Regions from separate parts of the Homo sapiens genome. Here regions 1, 2, 3, 4, 5 and 6 are each linked to region 7. The links are contacts of gene promoters, found by promoter capture Hi-C in blood cells and fetal thymus (Javierre and others, 2016). All regions are on one chromosome and are shown on one strand. Each heading gives the region's core, a stretch centred on a gene start or on the middle of the fragment in contact. The rest is flanking DNA. Distances are from core to core; before and after follow the strand shown.

Region 1 (3,580 bases), core at 1,035-3,534, 1.7 Mb before region 7:
TGAGGCACAGAGGTAGAAACTCGCTCTTCTAATGCTCTTGTAAATGGGCCTAAGATGGAAGTGATGTTGGCATCTTGCTGCTTACAGCATTCTCCCAGTCACTGCAGGTCCCAACCTTCTGTATCTGGAAAGACTGGGTGCAGCCAACTCAATGGGAAAGCAGAACAGAGAAGCTACAGGAACCAGCTCTCAGCCACCAGGAATTAAACCTGTCCTCAGTTCTTGTGGTTTCCGTTTTTTCAGAATGGCTTTTTCTATCTCCAGTCAATGCCCTCTAAGCAAATGACACCATCCTTTTCCCATAGTGCTTGGAACAATCCTTTTATGGTTCCTGTGCAAATGCAGCCAATACATCTCATTTTCTCTACAGCCTGAAGTAAGCCAGAGACTAAGTAATCAAAAATTACACTAAAATACTTAAGAGAAGCCCCTGAGAAAATAGGGTATTATTTGATCCTTAGCACAAATGTGCTACAATTTAACCCATGACAAACAGGCCCATACAACAATTTCCCATAGACAATATAAACAGGAAAGGCAGATCCTATGGAAAAGAGGAAAATAAGCCTTCCTCTTACAAGGAATATCCTAAGATTCCAAAGAGATTTGAACCTCAAAAGTGTTTCATATTCTGGGCACGGTGGCTCATGCCAGTAATCTCAGTACTATGGGAGGCTGTGGCAGGTGGATTGCTTGAGCTCAGGAGTCTGAGACCAGCATGGGTAACATGGTGAAACCATGTCTCTATGAAAAATACAAAAGGTAGCCAAGCGAGGTGGTGCACACCTGTAGTCCCAGCTACTGGGGAGGATGAGGTGGGAGGACGGCTTGAGCCTGGGAGGCAGAGGTTGCAGTGAGCTGAGACCACACCACTGCACTCTAGCCTGGACGACAGAGCCAGACCCTAACTCAAAAAATAAAAATAAAAAATAAAACAAATCAGGTGTGTATGCACATACACACACACAAAATGACTTCAAAGTATTTTCAAAGATCTTATTGACGCTCCTTGGGCCAAAAACAGAAAGGCTTCCTTGGCCTGAACCCTGTTGTCTCCCTTCCCCTGACATCGTAACTCATGCTTTTGCCATAGGCAGTTTCCCTCCTGATTCCTTCTCCTTTGGCCTGATAGCACCCTCTAACACCCACCAACACCCACCCACCACCCCATCTTTGAAAAACAGCATTATGTCCAAAGTGTTATTCGTCTTTCCAAGATCTACAGTTCCTGAACCTATAAGTGTTCTAGATCCAAATTTAACTAATTTGTTCTGTTTGAGAGGAAAACTACTATATCCATCTTACAGATGAAAAGATTAGGCGGCACGGTGGCTCATGCCTGTAATCCCCACACTTTGGGAGGCCGAAGCGGGTGGATCACCTGAAGCCAGGGGTTCAAGACCAGACTGGCCAACATGGCCAGAGAAACCCCATCTCTACTAAAAATTAGCCGGGCGTGGTGGCATACACCTGTAATCCCAGCTACTTGGGAGGCTGAGGAAGGAGAATCGCTTGAATTCAGGAGGCAGAAGTTGCAGTGAGCCCAAGATCATGACACTGCACTCCAGCCTGGCGACAGAGCAAGACTCTATCTCGGGGGAAAAAAAAAAAAGATTGAAGTTCAGGAGAGGATTAAATAATTCCTCCAAGGTCACACAACTAGTATAGCAGAACAACCAAATAACTCCTGCTTGACTCTAGAATCCACATTATTATTATTTTTTTTTTTTTTGGTTAAGACGGAGTCTTGCTCTGTCGCCCAGGCTGCAGTGCAGTCTCAGCTCATACCATTGTCCTGCCTCAGCCTCCACATTCTTAACCATTATGCTGGAGACAGTTCTTGTCCTTTCCAACTGTTGTTTATGTTCCTGAATAAATTTGAGAAACATTTTGCACAGCTCTGGGGTTAAAAAGAAAAATTAGCATTCTGATTGGAATTGGCATGTATATATACATAATTACTTCAGGAGGAAATAACACTTTCACCAGTTTTCTAACTCAAAGAGTTTATAATTAAGCTTAATTAAGCATACTGTTTCCCCCCTGCTATAGTGGGACTTAAGGATGGTGATCATGTCCTGTCCATACTGCAGGGAGTGGTCAACAAAGGCTGGTTTAATGAACAGTCTCTACCCTCAACTAAGCCCCTGCTTCATTAAGTGAACCCATAAAAATACCTGTGGGTCTTTGTGTCAACCATACCACCCACTCTCCCGACACTACTCTGCTCTCAAGGGCCCTGACATACAGGGTTGATTGTGGCATGACATTAACTTGACCCTCAACTTATCTTGATGTACCCCAAAGCATATAAACAATGTTTCCATTCCCTGTTGATGAATTCTGACCTGAAGTGCTATCAACAAAATGGCTTTTAGTTTCCCAGAGGAAGACAGCCAACAGTAAAAACGTTGTACAGATTGCTTGGTTCTAGTTGCTTACATTCCCAAGTTGATGTATTTTTTCCAATCTTAAACAGATCCTCCCCAAACCCCTTCAGTCCCAGTTCTCCACCTCACCTGTTGCTGACAAAACAAAGCTCAAGCTTCCCCATGTCTCAACTTCATACCCAAAAGAAAACTTGGAATTAGACGTGATTCTGTATTGGCTAATCTGTACATTTATCACAGCCACCCGCCTAGTTAGGATACAATGAAATGGCCTGGTGAAAAACACAAGCCTAACTTACTTTTTATATCACAACACAATGTTCAATTAGATGACTTAGAGTCAAAGGCTCAGAAAACCACTGTGAAAACAAGCCAGGGGATGAAGTTGCTTAAATAACAAAACGAAGGTGGGCCATCTTTAGCATGGGAAGAGGCAGGTAAGGAATACTGAGCCCATAAAATAGAAGGCAGACTGGTACAGCAGAAAATCACAGATAGGAGCCAGAAATCTAATCTTCAGCCCTATCTACATCACCTGCCTCCCTATCATCTTGGGAAAATCACTATTTCCTTAGGTATAAAAATATTTATCTCAGCACTTTCACTGGTCTGTAAACTGTCCCCCGCCCTTTCCTCTTTTAACTGTCATAAAAAAGCAATACATGGCTGGGTGAGGTGGCTTACAGAATCCCAGCACTTTGGGAGGCCAAGGCAGACGTTATCAGTTGAGCCTGGGAGTTTGAGACCAGCCTGGTCAACATGGCGAAAGCCCATCTCTACTAAAAATAAAAAATACAAAAACTAGCTGAGCTTTGTGGCATAAGCCTGTAATCCCAGCTACTTCGGAGGCTGAGGCACGAGAACTGCTTGAACCCGGGAGGTAGAGGCTGCAGTGAACTGAGATCATGCCACTGCACTTCAGCCTGGGTGACAGACACTCTCTCAGAAAACAAACAAAAAGCAGTACTTCACTGATTATAAAAACCGAAGTTTTCCATGCCTAATCATGTAACATAGCAGCTTTGTAAGACTCCAAATTAATAATCCAAACACCCAGCATATACTCCATTCTACTACCAAGAATTATACAGGAAACTGAAGCAGAGAGGTTAAGTCACTTAACCCAAGTCACCCAACTATCTAGGCAGTTTGGCTAAGTTGGTGTTCTTAACCGCAGCATTAGACCATCT
Region 2 (3,889 bases), core at 371-2,870, 1.6 Mb after region 7:
ATCAGCCCCTAAAATATTTGCCCAGAGGGCAGCTTTAAATTCTCCTGTATTTACTTAAGAAGACCGGAGGTCATGGCTCTGAATTCTTATTCTAACTAAGCAGGGTGTTTTTATTACCCTAAATCCCTGGAATATGGCAGTGTTATCTCCCTACACAAATCTTGGGATTATTGCCCTGAAGTAACATTAAATGCATGTGGTTTCAAAAAATGAAAAGCAAACCAATCCCAACAACCAAACAAGTAAAAAAAAAAAAAAACTTTGAAGGTGGTTTTGGAACTGAGAGTGAATTGTAGAGTTCAGTTGTACAGTTTTTGCAACTTTTTTCCTGTAAATCTAAAACTAATCTAAAAGTAAAAGTTTATTTAAAAAAATAGATTCTAACAACAAAAAAAGGATAGAAGACAGCGTAAATGTCATTAGTCTCCCATTTTAGTCTTTCAAGTTTCAAATTTCAAATTCAAGTTTCAAATTCTTTTCTTACTATGACGACATTGGAGTAGGAACAGAAAATTCTATCCATTGTATCAATTGAATTGTAAGATATTTCTACTTTTTCTTTTTAAGACCTCTTGCTTGATTTGCTGAGAGTCAATCAGATAAAAAATAAAAGCCATTCCAACCTTCATGAGAGATAAAGACTTAAGTGAATTGACATAATATATTGTCCTTCATATATAATCATAAGGCTGACACACTGTCAATAGCAGTCAGTTTCGAATTAAGCAGTGATGACATGTTGCTGCTGAGCTATTCACAAAGAGCTAGAGGACATATTCAGTGGAAGATGGGCCTGGAGCTTGGTTGGAAGTGGTACTGGGACTAAGTCAGATTCCAGGACACCTGGATGAAAGTCAAAATAGTGCCTGAGGCAAATTTTGCCCACAGCATGAAATTCTTCCCACCTTTGGCCAGGATTATTACCAGGAACTGGGCTAGAACAAAACTTGCCAATAGTGGTCCAATAGTGCACATTTCAGCCCAACAGCCTCAAAAGTGGTATACCCTAAGAGGTCTGCAGAAAAATCCCTCAGGTTAAAGAAAGAAAACATTAGAACTTGTACTTCTATTTATTTTTATCTAAAAAGAAATACATTACACTTTATTGATATTTACTATATGAGTTGACCCTGGTATCCTCACTAGATCTGCTCGTTAGCCAATCTTCAGTAGAAGGGAACATGGTTTTCACAAGCCTTGTTTCTATTAGAAGGGACTTTACTAGGCAAAGTCTTGGTCTTTCTACCCCTCCAACCCGATACTGTCAGTCCTCTCCTTGGACTACTGGAATTCTGTCCTCTCCCTGGGGGACACCTGCCTCTCTATAGCAACACCTAAATGGATTGGGTAAATTTGCTATATCTGGGGTCTTTGTAGCAGGCCCATCTGGTACTTATATTAAGCTACATTCTTTAATCTAGATTTCATAATACTAAACATGAGAATTTGCCTTCATATGTTACATGTTGCTTCATTTCTCAGTTTGTTTAGAAAAGAGGCCCCATTAGAGACCCTAACAGTCTTTTCTCACATGTGATTATATGAGGTTTTTTGAGGGAAATGGAGGAGTTCCATAACTGGAGGGCTTGACAAGGGTAACTTCATTCATTTATTTACTTTCAGTCTCTTACAGTTCACCCATGTGTGACTGATTTTATGTGTGTCAGATATCTTTCATTGGCCCCTCTAGATTTATTTTTCACTCCTTCTTCTTAGCCCTGAGAAAGGGCTCTCTTGATTGTCAGCTTCTGGTTGGTGACATTTTCTGTCATAGCCAGTGGCTATACTGCCTAATAGATACCTGCAAAAATATAAATAAGCAATTCCTTAATGGTAGAGGTAATATTTTAACAATAAGTGAAACAGTAATTACTTTCAAAAAGAATATACATTTTGAAAAGGGATTTTGGGGATGGTGTCTACTAGAACATTCTTTTACAGCTGAAGCAATGTAAGTAAATCTGCCATCTTTAAAAACACTTTTCATATTCTGATAGCTAAAAAATTTAAATACAAAATTTTCTGACATGCCAAAAATATTACAGTATGTTTGAAGTACATTTGTCAAAAACAAACTAGCCAATCCTTTGATTACTTTGTAAGAACTACTAACATTAAGATGGAAATTGAAATTTATAAGTAAAATTTCAAAATCATCTTTGTATAAATTGGTGAGTAGGACTGAAAACAGAGTATTATGATGTTTTCAGTGCAGACAAATATATATTTCTTCCATTTAGTTCTGCCTCTGATTGTAAGGAGTCTTTAACTATGACAAGCACTAAATCTAAGCATTACAATAAACCAAATTACTTGTTTATTTGTTTTGAGACAAGGTCTAGCTCTGTCACCCAGACTGGAGTACAGTGGCGTGATCCTGGCTCACTGCAACCTCCACCTTCTGGACTCAAGCGATCCTCCTACCTCAGCCTCCCTATAGCTGGGACCACAGACGCACATCACCACACCTGGCTAATTTTTGTATTCTTTGTAGAGACCAGGTTTTGCCATGTTGCCCAGGCTGGTCTTGAACTCCTGAGCTCAAGTGATCCATCCACCTCAGTCTCCCAAAGTGCTGGGATTTCAGGATTGAGCCACCATACCCAGCCAAACCAAACTTCTAAACAGGTCTTTTAATTGCTGCAACTAAAAGTTTTAAACCAAGATTTTCAAAAATATAAGTTTTGGTCATTCAAAATAAAATAAAGATGGAAGGAGCCTGGTATTATAAACTCACAGTAATATGTTATGTCAATAGAAATTAACTATTAGTATATTAAGGCATTGAGATTTTGGTGTTTGGTTACAGTAGCTATTCCACCTTGCTAAGTACAGAAATTGGTACTTTGACATGTGCTACTATAATCACAATATCCAAAAATAAGTGGCATTAATTTAGTGGCTGGCCAACAGAAAGTGAGGCTATGATAGAGCAGCCTGGCTGTTTGGAGAGTTCTGCTGTGTCTCAGCAGGTTTTCAGTAAAGCTGTCATGGGAGAGCTTGGAAAGCAGACCACACATCTACTGAATCTGTGGCTCTAGGGCAAGTAGTTGGAACTGTCAGAGGGTTAGTGAGTTGGCCAGAACTTAAGCAAGAAAGATATGCACTCAGGTGAGCTCGAGCTGATTTCCAAGCAGAGAATGGACAGAAGAAAGTTCAGAGATCAAGGGCCTTACATGGTTGAAAAGTTGATAGCTTTTGGACCCCAAATAAAAAATGGTCCTGAGTGACAAAGAGCCGGTGAGATTTCTCAAACAACTCAGCCCTTCAGTAAACATCAGATTAAGAGAGATACTTTTCCACTGTAGCATATTGTTTCAGATAGCCTCAAGGTACCTGCCATCAAGCTGAAGAAGAAACAGGACTAGGAAACAAAGAGTAAGGAGAGTTGAATAACTACATCTAATAAAAACCTTGGCACATGGAATTAACTGGAAGCAAATAGATCAGAAGCTTACTAAGAAATTTTTGAAGAAATTGTAGTGCCAAAGAAATCATGTGTTAGGCTAAAAAGGCCTTAAAAATAACCCATGGGAAGGAAGAGAGATATGAAAGCTGTGCAAGCCCCAAGAAGATAATATTCCCCAACAATTATTTCAGATATTGCCATGGAGGGCAGTAATGGTTAAGAAAGAAACTGAGAGACAGTAGCCAAGAGCCATGGGAAGAAGAATCATGAACAGACAAGAAACTACCTCACATTTTGGGTAGTTGCAGTGCCTACACAGAAGGATTTAATAATTTCTATGGGTCATTGACTGCTCTGTGTATCCTATTCTTCCTTTTTCTGAATGGAAGCTTTTATTACAGTTATGCCAGGGAGACAACATAGATCACCCAATCGAGGTCTGGCTAAATAATTTGCAGTTCAAATTGAAAATGTAAGAAC
Region 3 (3,650 bases), core at 155-2,654, 1.7 Mb after region 7:
AAACATTCTAATTTCACAAGCTTCATGTATAAACCCTAGCAAAATGTTCAACTTGACTTTTACTATAAACTGAGAGCTGTTCTCCACTGGAAAAAAAATCTGTTTCCTGAGAAATATCGTTTAAGAAGCCGTAACCATTTACAATTACAGTGTTTATCACAGAAAGCCATGCACTCATTATTTACACATGTAGGTGAAGTATGTCTACAAAAGGCAGCCGTATGATCCATCTGTTTCTGGGAGTAATAAATCTGAAATGGTCCCCTTTGAAATAAAATGTGCAAATATGCTTGGTGACCCAGACTTTAAAGTTATGTTCTTATCTGGATCTCTGTGTCACCATTGATTGTTACTCAACTCTTCATAGGGTGACTTTCTTTCAATTCACTCTCAGTGATTCTCTCATGTCATTCACTTATTGAGAAGAGCTCTAGATATTAATAAACATCTGATATTAACATACTAAATGCCAAATAGGTAATGTTTCACACATAGATAAGTTCTGGGTTTGGTAAAAAGTTCTATGTTGATACCACATTCAATTAACCTTCTTAAAACACCCTGGACATTCAGTATGCTTTCAAGAGATACAACAGTGGACTGCGTATTACTCATAAGGCTGGATTTAACTACAGTAAGACGTCTGTATGATTGATGAAAATAATTGGCAATTTAGAGAGACTATAGTATGATGGTTATGAATATGGGCTTTCTAGAACTTAAAATATGTGTTTGACACTGTCTAGCTCTGAAACTGTGGGACCAGGGACAAGTTAATACTGTCTCCAAGCTTTCTTCATGTGAAAAATGGGGTAGTATTACCTCTCTTAAAATGACAGTGGGTGTTAAATGAGATAATGCATGTAACATGCTTACCATGGTATCTGGCACGAAATAAATGGATATAATTATAAAAATGATATATGTGACTTTCCTAGTCCCACTGATACTCTAACTTCATTGAAATCAGTTATATCATCAATTTAAAATGCTATAGATTCTTCGTATGGATTTATTTCTCAATAATAGTACACTTCAAAAGTACAGTCTTCCAATGTGGCCATTTCTGCAATATAGTTTACAGGACTTAGAGTGATATTCTTAGTCTACTGAGTGGGACTTTCCCAGGTGTCTAGTACCTCACCATGACGTCAGGTTTTAAATACTTTTGTGAAGCTTTGGCACAGCTGCTGGGGGAGATACACTGATGGTGTTACTCTCTCCTTTATCATGTCTTACGACAGTTCAGAATGCCACACTAAGTTCTATATTAAGCTAACCTTTTTCTAAACCACAGTCATGAAAATTGGGGGAGATGACATTTGACTTTACTACTTGTAAATGACCTTTCTTTGATTCAATTCCCTTTTCCATAGCTCACGCCCTCTTTCAGAGTTATAAAACAGAAAATGGCTCCCCAGTTCTATCCCTATATGGTTCTCAATTCCCTAGGTTGTAACCATCTGGCTATAAAAATGGGGAAGGTGAATTCTCTGGATTATTTCCTTTACTATCTGTTGGTAATGTGTTCCTCTATTTTTTTTTTTTTTCAGCTTAACAGGATTGTTAAGCAAGTGATTAGACTTTGCTTTACTGTGAAAGAATTTTGGTTTATAAAGAGTTGAAGCTTCTCACAAACACTGGGTATGTACTTCCACAAGCTTTTCACAGGATTAAAAAGACAGTATCATACTGCTATTGGCACTGGTTTAACCACCAAATGTTTCCCTTGAGATGCAACCTGTCATCACTCTGCTTTAGAGTATGGATCTCTCTTGCAGAATCCAACCTTTGATATCACAGATCGTTAGGTTAATCTGTCCTATTTTCACCTCCCAATTCCAAAGTCAAATGATTATGTTTGGTTTTCCTGCTGGTCCCCAGCAAAATAAGTTTCTTTTTAATCTCTTGCATGTAGCTGCGGAAAAATATTCCAAATAATGAGTTTTTTTTTTGTCCTGTATCTAAATTAATGCTCACCAGGCGTCTTCTCCTTTGTTACCCTCTTTTGGTAAGTTATTTCTTTACAAAGTTGAATCATATCTTTTTCATTTCTTGAATTAACACTTCATTGAGGATTCCAATAACTTCCCTGTACTTTTTGTGCTCTAAAATTTTAGGGTTTCTTCTCAATCCTTTTTAGAGTTGACTTTGAGCATCACCACTTGACCCAGTTCAAAATTCCCTTGTTTTTGCATTAATGGAACTCATTTTATCAAATGCTGAACAAATCTGCATTTTAAAAGCAATTATGGTGGGTTTTAATGACATCTTTAAAAATGTGTGCTTTCATTTTTTTCAGGAACCTCTCTGGTCCTCACCCCACTGGTTTAACTCCCGTAATTTATCATTCTCATTTGGGATAGAGTTAGCTTATCACCTGCTCTACAGCAAAACACTCTCTCTGGAAGAAATCTGATAGTATTCTATCAACGTGTGAATTTAAGTCATAATGTTACCTTTTTTAGGGACATGAGTATTTGCATAAGAGCCTTATCTCTAATTGCAAAGTGACACTCTTAAGACTGTTAAAAGAAACTATTGTTCAAGGTAGATGGAATTAGAAGACCCTCAGCATGTGGGACTTATATGCCAGCTGAATAGACCCCAGACTATCAGTGCACTCAGGGAAGTAAAGTTTGACAGTATTTATATGCTTTACTTATGAACTGGATTTGGTATCTTAGAATATTTTCTTTGAAAAGGTAGTTCCATTTTTGGCTTTCTTGCTTCTTCATAGTGCCAATCTAGGTCAACAGGAGTAAGTGAGACCATTGTTCCATATCCCGCTTAAAAAGAGAACACTACTTCAAAGACAAGAACAACATCACCTGACAAAAATAAAAGAAGTTATCGGTTTTAAAACATTGTGCTTATGTGTGCCTGTTATTCTTAACTTTTTCAGGGATTCAAGTTATTTTAGGGTACCTATTCTGGTTGATTATATATCTAGCACAATAAAGCCATTTAAATAAAAAAATATAGAATTCATTTCCAAAAATTTCTTCTTTGATTTTAGGAAAGAATTATAATTTTCCAAATTGTCCCCTCCCACCTTCTGCTAAAAAGACCCCCAAAACTTAAAAACGTACAATTAATTCCTTGAGCAAACAAAAGGGGATTTTACCCAAATTCCTTTAAAGGGTACTTAGGGCTTTTAAATCTAAAATAGATAAAACAAACTACCCAAAGAAAACAAAACCAATACTCCACAATGTACCTTTTAGCTATATTGCCTTGTAAAATTTTTCTTTTGCTGATTACACTTAGTGATTACAAAATTAAACCTGCTGCATTTCTTGATAGTCACCCTGGTTCATGAATTGTCAGGTGGTAACAGGAAATAATTCATTTTTGAAACAGAGGCATTACATAAATGTATTTTATTCCAAATTGCATTTTATATACAATGTTAGCCACTTTTCATATTTATATTTGCAAAATTAATATATAAATGTTAAAAATATATATTTATATATAATTTTATTTTTAATTTATGTAACATTTTATTTTATATACATTTTGTAAATATAACTGTTATCTACCAAGAGGTTCAGATCCTTTGTGTGGCTTGTAAGCCAGAGCTGACCTGTTAAAGATATTTGTAATATGACTTATGAGCCAAGATCTGACCAAATTCTTTATGAAAT
Region 4 (3,846 bases), core at 1,145-3,644, 1.6 Mb after region 7:
CCTGAGGCGGGAGGATCACTTAAGCCCAGGAGTTTGAGTCCAGCCTGGGCAGCATAGCAAGACCTCATTTCAGATATATATAAATGTATATCTTAATATATATACCTTTACATATGTATATTTTTATATATCTTTATATACCTTTATATATAATATTTATATACCTTTATAAGTATATATATATTTATCAGTTTATCAGTTTTGAAACTGATATACATATTAGGAATAGACTTCCACTTTAAGAGATACATATAAAGATATATAAAGATACATAAATATATATAAATGTATCTCTTTACATTTGTCTTAATATAATATAAATTTTATTTTATAATTTTCAGTTATTTTAATGCAAAATGGTTGTAATAAATTTACCAGCGGTGAGGTTTATTTAAACACTAATATGTATCTTAAGAAATAGGCAGAGTAATCTGAATCTTGTGCTCATTTAACTCATATTCAATTTATTGACTAAACGTATATCTAAATATTCACAAAATTTTTGTAAGTGCTCACTTCCAATTTTATTCAATTATAATCTAAAAGTATGCATGTTTTAGCATATTAAATTATTTTTGGATTGCTTAAATTACTGTTCTAATTCTGCATCCTTTTTAATTTCTTAATACTGACACTTAAAAAGCCAACATTGCTTTGATTTCTCCTGAATACTTTTACTAATTTTAAATCTATATAAAATATATTTAAAGACAACTTTTTTCTTTCTTAAAAGTAATATAAATATATAATGGAAATTTTCAGTACAGTGCTTGACTCATAATATCATGAATTAAATAACACATTCCATAAAAAAAAGCACTTCTGTTGGATGTTTGTTAGGGAAAAAAAATGGCAGTAGTTGCCTTTAAGAAGCGTTTGAATACAAAACTTCCCTTGTACTTAGCAATTTTCACCTTTAAAACATTTTTTCCATTTTTTGTTTGTTTTTATTCTTCCGGCTTCCAGGGCTGGAAGTTCACCTTCCACAGAGCCTATACTCCCTTCGCACTTCATTCTCTCTCTTACAAAGTTCTCAGCTCTTTCTTTCTGTACCCTTAGTGCCAAAACTCTTCATTCAACAGATACAAAAGCAAAGTGAAGGTGAGGCTCCATACCTGCATATACCATGTTTATAAAGGAAAACAAAACAGATGGGATGGTATGGAGTAGGACATGTGACCAAAATCCAATAATCATCCCTTACTTGTTGATATTGTTCTTGACACTAAATGCTAAAGTCATACATGTTGGTGCTTAAATGGACTCATGATAAATGAAAATATATTTTTTCATCTTTTGGCACTAGGCTTGTTGAAAGTTGTGCAGTATGCTGTTTCACTCCCATTTGAAATGCCAGCCTAGAATTTTTAGCATCATGAGTATGTTGTGGGATCAACACAACAGACTGAGTATTGAGTTTGTAAAAATTGAACTTTGCGTATTTTAAAATACACTTTTTACTTGGTAGGAAGTAAAAAGACAAAAAATAAAATTAAAAAAATCACATCATATTAGGTATAATACAGATTGTCAGCAAAGAACTTCCTATGCCATAAGTAGTATGAACATATTTAATCTTTTAAATATGTCCATTAAAGTGTCCATTAAAAAATTAAATGTCTATTTTAAAAAACTAAACAATTCAGAAGCAATGCTTTATGTAGTGAGAAAACAATACTTCATGCATAATGAAAGAGAGAAATTACTTAAAACTTTCTTTAATCCTAAATTGTTTATCAGTTTTGAAACTCTGCACATAGTAGGGATAGACTTCCACTTTAAGAGATACATTTTGGGGACAAAATTTTAGTTTGGCAGGGTGTTCCTCTTCCACTATCCACATGTTTCTTAAACTCTTTTTCGTCAAGTGTCGAGGGGCCCTTCTTACTTACGACATTCCATCTTCAGACAGCTTAAAACTTTCCCAGGAAAGCTCTAAGTCCATGTTTCCCAAATGTTTAAGCTGATAGATATTATAAGACTTCTTTTCCTCTATTTTCTGAGCCCCCTCATCAAGCAAATGTATTTTATCTATTCCCATTTTATGTTATTTTTTAAATATGTATTTCTATATATGGAATATGCTTTTCATTTCTACAAATGGTTGTTTTTAAAAATGAAAATAGCTTGCCTTTCTGATTAGCAAAATATTCTATGCTCAGTGTAAGTAATTCAGATCATATATTACTACTTTTCATCATGTATACTTCTATTTATATTTTTTACATAAATGGGAACATACTATAATTTATTTTTTTCACTTAACATAACATGTTAAAGATTCTAGGTCCATTCCCGGAAAACTGATTTACTATGTATTTCCCTAATGACTAAAAAGTATTCTACTGGGTAACTGGTATCTTAATTGGCTGATCTAATCCCCTATTTACTAACACCAAATTTGTTTCCTATTTTCATTATCTGATACAATTTTACATTCTTGCACATATATTTTTACTCACCCGTTGGACTACTCCTTTAGGATACAAATCTAAGAAATGGAGAGGAAACACATTCTTTTAGTATGTTACAAAACCCAAATTGCCCTGCACAGTATTTATATCCATGTTCTGTCCCACCAACAGTGTGGGAGAGTACTTATACTGCCCTGTATCCCCATAATCTTACTTATGCTAAGACATCAATTTTTTAAAAATCAAATCAATAAAAAATGAGATTTGTATTATTTTAAACACCTTTGATTTCTAGTAAGATCAATGACTGGTCTGTCTTTGAGGTGATACTTAGAAAATACTTCCTGTTACAGACTGAATTGCATCCCCCAAAATGTGTATGTTGAAAGCTGAATGCCAGTGTGGCTTATTTAAAGATAGGGGCTTTAAAGAGGTAATTACAGTTAAACGAAGTCTTAAGGGTGAGGCCCTAATCCAGTGACTGGTGTCCTTATAAGAAGAGGAAGAGCCACCAGGAATGCATATGCTCAGGGAAAAGGCCACCTGAAGACATAGGGAGAAGGTAAAAGGCCTCAGGAGAAACCAACCCTGCTGACACCTTGACCTTGGACTTCCAGCCTCCAGAACTGAGAAAATAAATTTCTGTTAAGCCACAGGTTTTTTTTTATATTAATAGCAGACCTGGCAGACTAATACACTTCCCCATTTCAAGATTGTAGCATCGTTAATCTGAATTTTCTCCTCATATTTTATAATCTTATTCTTTTCATTCAAATCTCTGTTCTGTTTTGTTTTGTTTTGTTTTTCTTAAAGACAGGATCTGGGGCCGGGCGCGGTGGCTCACGCCTGTAATCCCAGCACTTTGGGAGGCCGAGGCGGGTGGATCATGAGGTCAGGAGATCGAGACCATCCTGGCTAACAAGGTGAAACCCCGTCTCTACTAAAAATACAAAAAAAAATTAGCCGGGCGCGGTGGCGGGCGCCTGTAGTCCCAGCTACTCGGGAGGCTGAGGCAGGAGAATGGCGTGAACCCGGGAAGCGGAGCTTGCAGTGAGCCGAGATTGTGCCACTGCAGTCCGCAGTCTGACCTGGGCGACAGAGCGAGACTCCGTCTCAAAAAAAAAAAAAAACAAAGACAGGATCTGGCTCTGCTGCCCAGGCTCTAGTCTAGTGGGTGATTATAACTCATTGCAGCCTAGAACTCCTGGGCTCAAGGGATCCTTCCTCCTCAGCCTCTCAAGTACCTAGGACTACAGACGGCACCATCCCCCTGGCAAATTAAAAAAAAAAATTTTTGTAGACACAGGGTCTTGCTATGTTACCCAGACTAGTCTTGAACTCCTGGCCTCAAGTGATCCTCCTACCTTGGCCTCCCAAAGTGCTGGCTTTTCTGGTTTACAGGTGTGAGCCACCGTGCCCAGCCTTAAATTTC
Region 5 (3,339 bases), core at 225-2,724, 1.8 Mb after region 7:
AGATCTAGATTTTTCTTAAAGTTAATAGCCATTTACGGAGAAGCTGTGATACCTGTCATGCTTTGTCAACTTTGAAATTGTGGACATGATATCATTAAACTAGACACTTCAACATATTTCTGATGATCCAGTTTATACATCTGAGTGTGTCCTGCCATTTTCAACACCACTTTAATACCATTTTGAGACTAGAAAGTCTATTTGCATTTCTTTAATTTAAACTAGATTGAGAAAAATGTAGTCAGAATCTAGTCATTAGCCAAATGTTTTCTCCTTAATACCATGAACTAGTCTGCATTTTAGAACTTCCCACTCTTATCAATTGTTTATCTCTCATATTAAAGATACTGTCTTAAAACCTTATAATGCCTTTGAGAAACATATATTTTAGTGTTTTTAGTTCATAGAATATCTAATATAATTTTTTTTTTGAGTTGGAGTCTTGCTCTGTCGCCCAGGCTGGAGTGTAGTGGTGCAATCTTGGATCACTGCACCCTCCACCTCCTGGGTTCAAGCGATCCTCCTGCCTCAGCCTCCAAAGTAGCTGGAATTACATGTGCCCACCACCAGGCCCAGCTAATTTCTGTATTTTTAGTAGAGACAGGGTTTCACCATGTTGGTCTCAAACTCCTGACCTCAGTTGTTCCACCCACCCTAGCCTCTCAAAGTGCTGGGATTACAGGCGTGAGCCACCGTGCCCAGCCTCTAATATAAAATTGATAGTGAAAAAAGATGCACAACCATCCAATTCATTACAATATCATGGAGCATCAGATCGAATCCACTCTTCTTCTTTCTCTGTCATACTCTACTAAAGTACCAATTGCAGTGTCTTATTAATGGTTTCATTTTATTGATTTGGTATTGCTACTTTAGTAAGTAATCAGGTAATATTGTCATCGGATACTCCAGGCACTCTTCACTGGGAATATAGAGAGAAGAGTAAACAAATAGGGAAAGTAAATCAATTCATGCATGAACACATATCGATTGGACATTATACATATAGAATTCCCTAATTTTGCCTCTCCTTAATCTACTCCCATCTTGTAACTCAGTTTTCAGCACCGTATTTTGTACATTGCAGCTTTGTGCAGCCATCCTCTTGCTCAAAGGCACTCAGCAGATGCTTGAGATTCTGCATATTTGTAGGTTGTTCCACCCAACATAGGAGCACCCTCTGTCTTTGATTCACCAAAGCAAGTTGATGCATATATATTTGCATTTTAATTGAATATTTAAATGCAGGTCTAGAAATAGGTGTTTATGAAGGTACATAAAATATTGAAATATAAGATATTCCATAATAAAAATAATATATAATCTCACCCAGTCAATAAATAAAAATGGACCAGTAGATTGTTCTATTGTATTTAAAAATAAAAACAAAACAACAGATTGAGATATGGACATGAAGGACACATGACCATATCTTAATTATTTTCCTCGATCCAGTTTTGTTAGTCTAGATTTTTGTGCCTACCAGGGGAAAGATTAGTCATTATGGTTATAACAAACTACTTAATGTTTTCAGCTTGGATTGCTCCATTAATGTAGTTAGTAAATTTGTGAGATTTTCTTAAAATTTGCTTTGATATACATATGAAGAACATGATTAATATTTTTTTCAGACAAAGTCTAAACTGACTCAAAAAGGGCACATTGATGCAGTCCATTTAAAGAACAAATTATTTACAAGAAATAATTGAGATATGTTGTTTTAAAGTTTCATAGACAGTATGGAGTTTTTGCATATGTACCATTTGCATAGAGAAAAGATAGTTAACTGAATCTTTTACTTAATTATCAGATAATTTTACACTTATTCTGTAATGCCTAGGCCAGGAAATACCCCACGACATTCAATAAAAGGGTTGCTAATGTTTTATAGAAATAACTTTATCAAAAATTGAGTCAATTCACTTTTTATTTGTTATTAGACAGATATGGATATTACTTCTATATTTGGATTATTCCTGGAATATAACTATGTATACTTTTAGAAATCTCATAAATTACCCTCTGTTTTAATCCTTGTTTCTAACAGTATTGTCTTTGAGGGTTTCATTATGATTCCAACTAACTTTAGTTTGGAACACAATAAAACAAGTGGACTCTTGAAATGATAATTATCTTTTCATATAATCAAGACATCAACAGGAGTTAGGCAAATAAAATGAGGAAAGCCATAAAATTAGTATCCAAATGTAAAAAGCATCTATCAAGACTTATTCATAATTCAAATCAATATCTCCCAAAGCCTTATCTTATTGAAATTAAAATGTATTATTTTCAATGCCCCTTTTCTCTTACCAAAAAAAGGAAGAAAACTATTTACCTTCATCATGCCTTGTTCTTCTTTACTTCCCATGTCCTTGGGAACTTACCAAAGACTTCCATAGTATGACTTCCACACTCAGCAACAGGACAATATTTCCAGATATACCTAGACTACCTTTTGTTTATTCTACGCCATTTGGGGATGATCATATAAATTCAGAAGTAATTTCTTATTAAAAAGATTTGAAGATATCTAGAGTATTTTGTAAATGTAAAAACTAAATTACCCTTTCATTAATCGCATAAAACTCAATTAGGTGAATTTTAAAATTCTTTTTAAAAAAGATATTGTTTCATTTTTAGACTAGCATTATTTTTGAAGAATGAACTACTCTAAATTAAGGATTTTGAAATATTTCAACTCAAACATTGTAGGAGGTTTAAAGGAAATTGGAGTCAGCATGCTATAGGAGTATTATCTAAAGGCAGACATGACTTCAAATTGTTCACCACACTTAGTAATTTAACTCTTGTAAAGTTATTGTTAACGAATTTGTTACTTGCTTGGGAAACCTTACGTAGACATATTTTAAAAGTAAAATCAAATTTTTGGAGTGAAAAGTATAATATATATTTGCTATTTTCCTTTTTCTTTAAAAATTTAATTTGTGAAAGAAGTGCCTCCATCTTTCCTTTTATTACTATGGCAGGGGTTGGGAGTGGAAAATTCTTGATTTAAAAAGTTGCAGCCTGTGATTCCATTAGGAAAGAGAATCAAATAATCAAGTTGTATATTGTGTGTAAAAGTAAAAAAGATCTGCCAAAATTCAATTTATTTTAAAACCTTATGTTGGAAGACTTTATATGAGGAGATATAGATCTTACCAGGTTAATCAAACTAAGAAGATACCACTTAAGGGAACTTTAACATTACAGATTTTTTTCAATCCAATATTATCAATATAGGACCTCTTGTACATGTAGCTCATAAGAGCTCCAGATTTCTTAAGAAAAAACCTTAACCCCCACCACACCCACAGATTACACCTTTTTGGTATG
Region 6 (3,613 bases), core at 722-3,221, 1.7 Mb after region 7:
ACAGGTCCCACAAACATATATCAAATAGTCTTCTAGGAAGGACATGCTTTTAGTCCGCTTTTAATCAACAATAATTTTAAAAATTAGTCCAAAGCATTGCATGGAACATAACATATCTGGATCACTTACTGAATATTTCTGCTTTTCATCTGTTTGAGTGCTGTCAGGTAGACAGACTCAGAATTTTTGTTTGAAAAGAAATGTGTATGCAGATATGAGACAATTATTAATTCTGTTGTATTCAAATCAATTACTGAAGAAATGAAAGTAAAATTACCTAATTAAATTGAATCACACATAAACCTACTCTGTTTGTGACGGGTATAATTGAAATGGTAATTAAGTGGTAGTAATGCATTTCATTTGAGGATGGCAATTCAGAAGATGTGTTTGCTGGCAGGTCTTGGCTGCTTGGTGTACCTCCCTAGGTGACCTTGTCCAGAGTGAGTTTTTAGGATGGACTTATTTACTTGTATAACTAGATGTGTTGGTGAATGAATTCCTAGTATAGCTCTGAAATTTTATTAATTTCCATACTTATGGTGCTCTATGTGTTATATTAAATTCATGTCTCTGTTGCATATCTGGAATTCTCAGAACCACATATACATACCCCAGCAGTGTTCTTTTTTTCTCTCTTGTGTAGAATCAAGGAGAAAACAGAATATTCAGTTTAAAAGGATTTCACATTAGAGTACACATAAACAGACATTTTCCTGAGTGAAGTTTCACCTTTTTTGGGTCAGAGTTACTATTGTCATAGGCACAGGACAGTCGATCCCTAATTCCAAATGATCTTTTTTTTTTTTTTGGATGCCTTTATCACCTCCTATCCTGTTTTATCATTGCTTAATTTCTTGAGTACATCTTATCTCCTTTGTGTGACTGGAAACTCCTTGAGGGCAGGGAAAATGACTTTGTAATCTCTGCAGCCTGAGGGTAGCAGACAGAATATGACTTTTAGCACCTAACCGACTGGGATAGTATCTTTCCTATGCTGTGTTTTAGTTACCTCATTTGTAAAATAGGGAAAGTTAGTGCTTGTCTCTTGGAGTTGTTGTGAGGGTTAATAAACTTAGTAAAGCTTTTATCACAGGGCCTAATACATTTTAAGAAATAATTTAAGAAATATTCATTTATCTTTTCCACAGAAGCTAACACAGTGCCTTATACATAGTAGTCTCTCAATTAAGAAGATTTGCTGTTTATTTTAAAATATATTGTGAGTTAATATCCCTATGTGTTGGTTATCTGATTGACTGAATGCATTAGAGACGTCTCTCAGTTATTCCAGACATTATTATTCAGATTAACCCCACAGGTTACTTCAGTTATGCTATCTGTGTTGAGGATACCAGAGACCAAATCACCCAGCTAGTCTTACCCAGAAGGCAGTTTTAAAATAAATGCTCTAACGATGGCTCTAGCTTAGACAACTTTTAACTCTTTTCTCAACACTCATTCAAACAATACTACATTGGACTAAAAGCTTCTCAAGTACATGACTTCAAAAGCTTCACATGGCTTCAAAATATACATCTTTTCAGCCAGTGTCACTCTAGAATTTAGAGATGGATTTTATAAAACACTTTAAGGGATACCTAGAGAATCTTGAAATGTATATACAAACAGGTCAGAGGTATTATTGGAAAATCTTAAAGATACAATTTAAAAGTTAGTGTTACTATTATTATTTTGAGTAATGAATATTTCTGATCTTTATGATCCAAATCTTTCAAGTCATAAATCAGTCATTTAGTAGATATACATGAAAATGACATGTAATTCTAATGTTGTTTTTAATAAACTTTAATCCAGTAGCTAAATCTCAAAGATCATTTAGAATCCTATGAATCAAATGGCTCTCCCTTAAAACTGTTAAGACAGTTCTGTTGATTCCAGATTGTGAGCCAGACCTCCATTTTCTTAGAGGAGTTGTGATAATTATCACATTTGTCTACAATTATTGTAACAGTACTTGGGTTCATATACACAATCTTTACAAAAGATATTTCCCCCAGTTTTATCCCAACATTTACATTCCCCCTCAGTTGAATTCTTACTAGAAATATTTGCTTAAATATGTCCAAGCAATTTGTTACATGAGCAATCATTATCTAGTTTTACAAGCATTTGTTTGTAATCATTCCTATAGCTGCAAGAAATAAGGCAGTATATTTAATAGCTTGAAGAATACCATGTATTCTCTTTGTTTACATTGTAACAGATCATCTTCTTAAGAAGTAATCTTTTATTGTATCTCTTTCACTGTTTTCTTTAACGTTACAAAAAAATTTTGTGTTATTTGGAAGCTCATGAAATATAATTTGCTTGGCGTATGGTTCTGTGAATTAAGCCCATAATATCTAACTGGCATATATAGGAAAGCAATGTACTTAATCCTAACTGAACTGAAAATTCAAGCTTGTATCCATATATTTTTAGTAGCAATTTAATGATAATCAAGTCATATGCATTTATGTGCCAAAAAGAACTGTTTGTGGTAATCAATCTGTAATTTTCTGTTTGACATTTTTTTCCTTTGAATTACTGTAAAATACTTTCAGCTACTAGTAAGATTATTTTAAATCACAATTAAAATTGATTTTTCCCTGCTTGGGTGGGTCTTAAGGTTGGTGGGGAACTTCAGTGCTCCCCCAAATGCTTCCTTTTCAAGTGTGAAGTTTACGGATATTTTGGATCTTACTGTGTTCTCAGGATCATGTCTCTAGGTAGGCACAGCTTTGATGACTGATGTCTATTAATTGTGTTTGTCAGTTTATAACAAAGCATTTATTGCTCTAAAATGCTCTCATGCTTTGGTATTTTGACTTCTTTCCTGCCTGTGAGAGACCCTAGCTTAGTGATTAGTTTTTGTTTCTGAGTTTCTGTTTTTACCAAGTGTTTTTATTTTCTAGATTACTGGCTATTGGGATAAAGGAAATGATCCAGTTAGAGGACATCAGAAAACTAGAAGCTTTTGATAGAACAACAAGATCTAGTGTCCCTATCTAAAGAGAAGAAATAGAGAAGGTGTGCCTTCATTAGAAGTGTTACAATCAATAGCTGCCAATTACTTAGTGAGCAGAAAACATCTGGTACTCACCTTCATCTATTTGCAGCCTGTATATCTTTATGTACAGGTCCTCTTCTCTCTTTCTCAGTTTATTTCTTTAGATACTGTAGATGCTTTCATGACTTTCAACTCTGCATCTAGCACTGTTTCTTTCCTCAAAGGAAATCCCACATCCAGTCTATCAGAAATCCTTGGCTCTGCTTCTAAAATACATCCTGAATTTAAACAATTCTCACCAGGCCCGCTACTGTAACTTTAGTCTATCATCATTTCCTAGTACCTTAAGCCTAAAATATTGCAACAGTTTAACCGGTCTTCCTGCTTCCATTCTTGCTTCTCTGTAGTTTGTTTTCCACACAATAGACAGAGCCTGACTTTCTAAAACCCAAATCAGATCATAACAATTCATTGCTTTAAACACAAAAGCTTTCCACTGAAACTAGAATACAACTAAAATTCCTTTCCAAAGTCTGTAAGGTCCTAAAGGCTGTGGCCCTGCCTCCATCTCTGACTTCCTCTTCTCTATTCTTTCCCTGT
Region 7 (3,345 bases), core at 226-2,725:
TTCTGAAGGATGAGGAATGGAGAGGAGGCCAATTCCAGGTTCCAAAGTGAATCTTTGCGCAAAAGCCATGAGGCAGCAAGGTGCAGGGGCTTTTAATGACCTAAGGGAACGCACTGTGGGGTTGGGACCATGATGGCCAGAGGAGGTTTTGACAAGAGGCTAGTCAAAGAGCAGAGAAAAACTTTAAGGAGTTTTAAGAAAGGGAAGTGCCACGATGAGTTTTGTGTTTGGAAATGTTTTAGGCGGCCACACCGCAGTCTCGGGACTGGCTGGGACCTGGATAGACACTTGGATATCAGCTAGAAAGCTACGACAGGAAACCAGGCGAGGACGAGGCAACTGGGGATGTTGTGGAGCAGAGACGGAGAGAAAATGGGTGCATTCGAGACAAGTTAGGGGGAAAAAATGCAAGGACTTGGAAATGAACTTGGGGCGCGGCAGGAAGGCATGACGGGTTGCTCTGTAGGTCTTATCTGTAAATTACGGCGATCAGTGAAAGATCTGGAGGAGGAAGGTGGACACACTCTCTAACAAAAAAAACCCTTTTTGAAATTTTATACCAATATTTTAAAAGTAAACCAGATCTTTTCAGACATGCCTTTGAGCTGATATTTGTTAACTAGTTAGAATTAGAAACTTTCCTTATTTTTACTCAGTTACAATATACGCCACAGCTGAGGTGAGAGGAAAGAAAAGGTTGCTTTCTTAGGAACAAAGAGTGGTACCTTCAGTATCGTGGGCAAAGCTTTTCCAAGTCCAACAGCAGTCAAAACAGCGCTTTTTATAAATAACACTCAGCTAAAAGTTTCTGGGTTTGTGATTGTTCCAACGGTTAAGCTCGGATGAGGGTCCCTGGAGTCGTAGCTCCCGGGAAACGTCGACTGGCTTTCCACCTGGACTTCATCCGTCCAGGCAGCCCAGAGGGGCTTCAGGCCCCGCCCGCTCTCCTGCCAACTACAGCCTCGCGACTGCGCTCAGCCTTCAGGCCCCGCCCCTTCGGTCAAGCGGCGTGCTCTCACTGCACGGCGCCTGGGCCCCGCGCGCCGGGACCTCGGTTTCAGCCGTCCTGTCCTGCCCCGAGGCCCCTAGGCCCCGCCCCTGGGCCCCGCGCGCCAGGACTTCGGTTTCGACCGTCCTGTCCCGCCCCGAGGCTCCTAGGCCCCGCCCCCTCTGTCCCCGGCGTGTTCTCGCGGCTCCGCCCCTAGGACCCGCGCGCCGGGACTTTGGCAAGTTTCAGCCGTCCGGCCCCGCCCCCTCGGTCCCACGGCTCTCGCGGCCCCTCCCCTAAGTCCCACACGCCGGGACTTTGGCAAGTTTCAGCCTCCAGCCCCACCCCTAGGTCCCGCCCACTCGGCCAGCGGCTGGCTCTCGCGGCCCCGCCCCTGTGCCCTGCGAGTCCCTATTTTGGGAGCATTGCGGCCGCCGTGCCCCGCCCCTCCCCGCGCGCCCCGCCCCTCTGGCGGCCCGCCGTCCCAGACGCGGGAAGAGCTTGGCCGGTTTCGAGTCGCTGGCCTGCAGCTTCCCTGTGGTTTCCCGAGGCTTCCTTGCTTCCCGCTCTGCGAGGAGCCTTTCATCCGAAGGCGGGACGATGCCGGATAATCGGCAGCCGAGGAACCGGCAGCCGAGGATCCGCTCCGGGAACGAGCCTCGTTCCGCGCCCGCCATGGAACCGGATGGTCGCGGTGCCTGGGCCCACAGTCGCGCCGCGCTCGACCGCCTGGAGAAGCTGCTGCGCTGCTCGCGTTGGTAAAGACGGAGCTTCTTGGGGGTGGCTGCGAGGGCACGGGTCGCACAGTTTCTGGGGGCGGCAGAATCTTTTCAAATCTTCCGTTTCCTCCTTCCGTTCCCGCGCTGCAGTCGGGTCGGCGTGCGGTTAGCACCTGCCGGGGGATATAGTATTAACAACTTCTGCTTCTCATTCACTTTATTTTTGGGCGACTTACCGGCCTCCCCTTGCCCTGAATCCAACTGAAACGGTAGTTTTTGAACTTCAGCGGGCTGAAGAACCGTCTGGAGGTGTGGCTAAAAAAATGTTCATCCCGGTCGCGCCTCCAGAGTTTGAATCGGGCTGGGGTGGGGCTGAGGCTTCTGCATTTTTTACCCGGCCCTGGATTACCCCGCTGCTTTCCGGGAGCTGTGGCGAATTGGGCTGGCGGGCCGCCCCGGAGACCCTCTAAATTAGAAGCAGCTGCCACTCTAAGTTAAACTGGCCTTTTTGACATTTTCTCCGTGCCAGCTTTTTCGAGTGAGATGGGATGGAGCATCGGATATCTACCATAGTTGTAGATTGAAGATGGCACGGAATTTCTCATTTTCTTAGTTTGCTCAAAAGACTGTATGTCTGGTGTCCCCGCTCTTAGTGATGCTGTTTATTGTTTTCCTTCATGCTGTCACATTATGGGAGTCCTCTCAGGGTTTTCATTCCGTCCAAAGACATTTTCATGAGTGTTACTTCTTGCTTTTTTTCGTGTAGCTCTTTCTAGTATACAAACCAAGAAGGTTTGTAAAACCCAAGAAAGGTTTGTCTCATTTTCATTTCTTCTGAAAAGCATTTTTATTGAGCACTTGCTGTGTGTACAGCTAAGTATTTCTGTATGAAGATCACTGGCAGTTTTTTTGTTATTTGTAGCTGTCAAAAGTTTATATCCTTTTTGGACTTTTTTCCCCTTTGATTTCTAACTTGCAGAACTTAAGTTACCTAGTTGCATAAAGTATAAGTAACACAACTTTTTCTTTTCTTTCCTTTTTTGAGACGGAGTCTCGCTCTGTCGCCCAGGCTGGAGTGCAGTGGCACGATCTTGTCTCACTGCAAGCTCCGCCTCCCGGGTTCACGCCATTCTCCTGCTTCAGCCTCCCAAGTAGCTGGGACTGCAGGCGCCCGCCATCATGCCCGGCTAATTTTTTGTATTTTTAGTACAGATGGGGTTTCACCGTGTTAGCCAGGATGGTCTCCGTCTCCTGACCTCGTGATCCGCCCGCCTCTGCCTCCCAAAGTGCTGGGATTACAGGCGTGAGCCACGGTGCCCGGCCAAACTTTTTCTTTAAAAATGAAAAGGACTTAACTGTCAGAGTTTTGCACTTATATTTTCTTTGACGAAAACTTTTAATATCTGTGACAAAATGACATTGCACTTCTTAGAAAAGTGACACTCAGATAAGTGAGTACATGAAGACATTTGAGTTGTGTGTTTGTTTTCCTGTAGCACATGGGTCATCTGAGAATAGGAAATTTAAAACTGGCACTGCTAGTTGCAATAACAGAAGCATTATAGTTCACACCTTGATAGTCCAACGAAAGTTAGACATTCCCTTGGCACATACCTATGTGGAAGCATCGGGCTTCAC

The links. The method cuts DNA at HindIII sites, captures the fragments that hold promoters and counts their contacts. A CHiCAGO score of 5 or more calls a contact.
Region 1: a fragment that was not itself captured here is called in contact with the fragment with the promoter of BARD1 in region 7 in 1 of 17 cell types (activated CD4 T cells); the score reaches 7.2 in activated CD4 T cells.
Region 2: a contact is called between a fragment that was not itself captured here and the fragment with the promoter of BARD1 in region 7, in 3 of 17 cell types (total B cells, fetal thymus and naive B cells). The highest score is 10.3, in total B cells.
Region 3: a contact is called between a fragment that was not itself captured here and the fragment with the promoter of BARD1 in region 7, in 3 of 17 cell types (total B cells, naive B cells and fetal thymus). The highest score is 23.9, in total B cells.
Region 4: a fragment that was not itself captured here is called in contact with the fragment with the promoter of BARD1 in region 7 in 1 of 17 cell types (fetal thymus); the score reaches 9.9 in fetal thymus.
Region 5: a contact is called between a fragment that was not itself captured here and the fragment with the promoter of BARD1 in region 7, in 1 of 17 cell types (fetal thymus). The highest score is 7.3, in fetal thymus.
Region 6: a contact is called between a fragment that was not itself captured here and the fragment with the promoter of BARD1 in region 7, in 5 of 17 cell types (fetal thymus, naive B cells, total B cells and 2 more). The highest score is 20.8, in fetal thymus.

The regions. Positions count from the first base shown.
Region 1 is chr2:216,503,173-216,506,752 of GRCh38, reverse strand. It overlaps RPL37A (ribosomal protein L37a), which reads right to left. Exons shown (of 4, transcript NM_000998.5): 4 at 2,667-3,580. Among named protein-coding and RNA genes, the nearest start is that of RPL37A, 6.1 kb to the right of the region's middle. The HindIII fragment of the contact is 527 bases long and covers 2,021-2,547 here.
Region 2 is chr2:213,171,978-213,175,866 of GRCh38, reverse strand. LOC105373864 (a long non-coding RNA gene) reads right to left here. Exons shown (of 3, transcript XR_923851.3): 3 at 1,597-1,801. Among named protein-coding and RNA genes, the nearest start is that of LINC01953, 6.2 kb to the right of the region's middle. The HindIII fragment of the contact is 3,670 bases long and covers 1-3,455 here.
Region 3 is chr2:213,155,021-213,158,670 of GRCh38, reverse strand. It overlaps LINC01953 (long intergenic non-protein coding RNA 1953), which reads left to right. Exons shown (of 4, transcript NR_146974.1): 3 at 1,554-1,644; 4 at 2,741-2,855. Among named protein-coding and RNA genes, the nearest start is that of IKZF2, 5.2 kb to the right of the region's middle. RefSeq lists an enhancer at 1,315-1,384. The HindIII fragment of the contact is 451 bases long and covers 1,179-1,629 here.
Region 4 is chr2:213,190,946-213,194,791 of GRCh38, reverse strand. LOC107985981 (a long non-coding RNA gene) reads right to left here. Exons shown (of 5, transcript XR_007088069.1): 3 at 2,463-2,491. Among named protein-coding and RNA genes, the nearest start is that of LINC01953, 25 kb to the right of the region's middle. RefSeq lists an enhancer at 3,756-3,846. The HindIII fragment of the contact is 5,176 bases long and covers 1-3,846 here.
Region 5 is chr2:213,051,336-213,054,674 of GRCh38, reverse strand. The region is part of intron 5 of IKZF2 (IKAROS family zinc finger 2); the gene reads left to right. Among named protein-coding and RNA genes, the nearest start is that of IKZF2, 99 kb to the left of the region's middle. The HindIII fragment of the contact is 4,308 bases long and covers 1-3,339 here.
Region 6 is chr2:213,129,518-213,133,130 of GRCh38, reverse strand. All of the region lies in intron 4 of IKZF2 (IKAROS family zinc finger 2), which reads left to right. Among named protein-coding and RNA genes, the nearest start is that of IKZF2, 20 kb to the left of the region's middle. The HindIII fragment of the contact is 910 bases long and covers 1,517-2,426 here.
Region 7 is chr2:214,807,813-214,811,157 of GRCh38, reverse strand. It overlaps BARD1 (BRCA1 associated RING domain 1), which reads left to right and starts at 1,475. Exons shown (of 11, transcript NM_000465.4): 1 at 1,475-1,746. The coding sequence starts at 1,589. SNHG31 (small nucleolar RNA host gene 31) reads right to left here and starts at 929. Exons shown (of 4, transcript NR_110292.1): 1 at 726-929. RefSeq lists a silencer at 997-1,566 and enhancers at 2,117-2,196, 2,487-2,536. The HindIII fragment of the contact is 4,673 bases long and covers 748-3,345 here.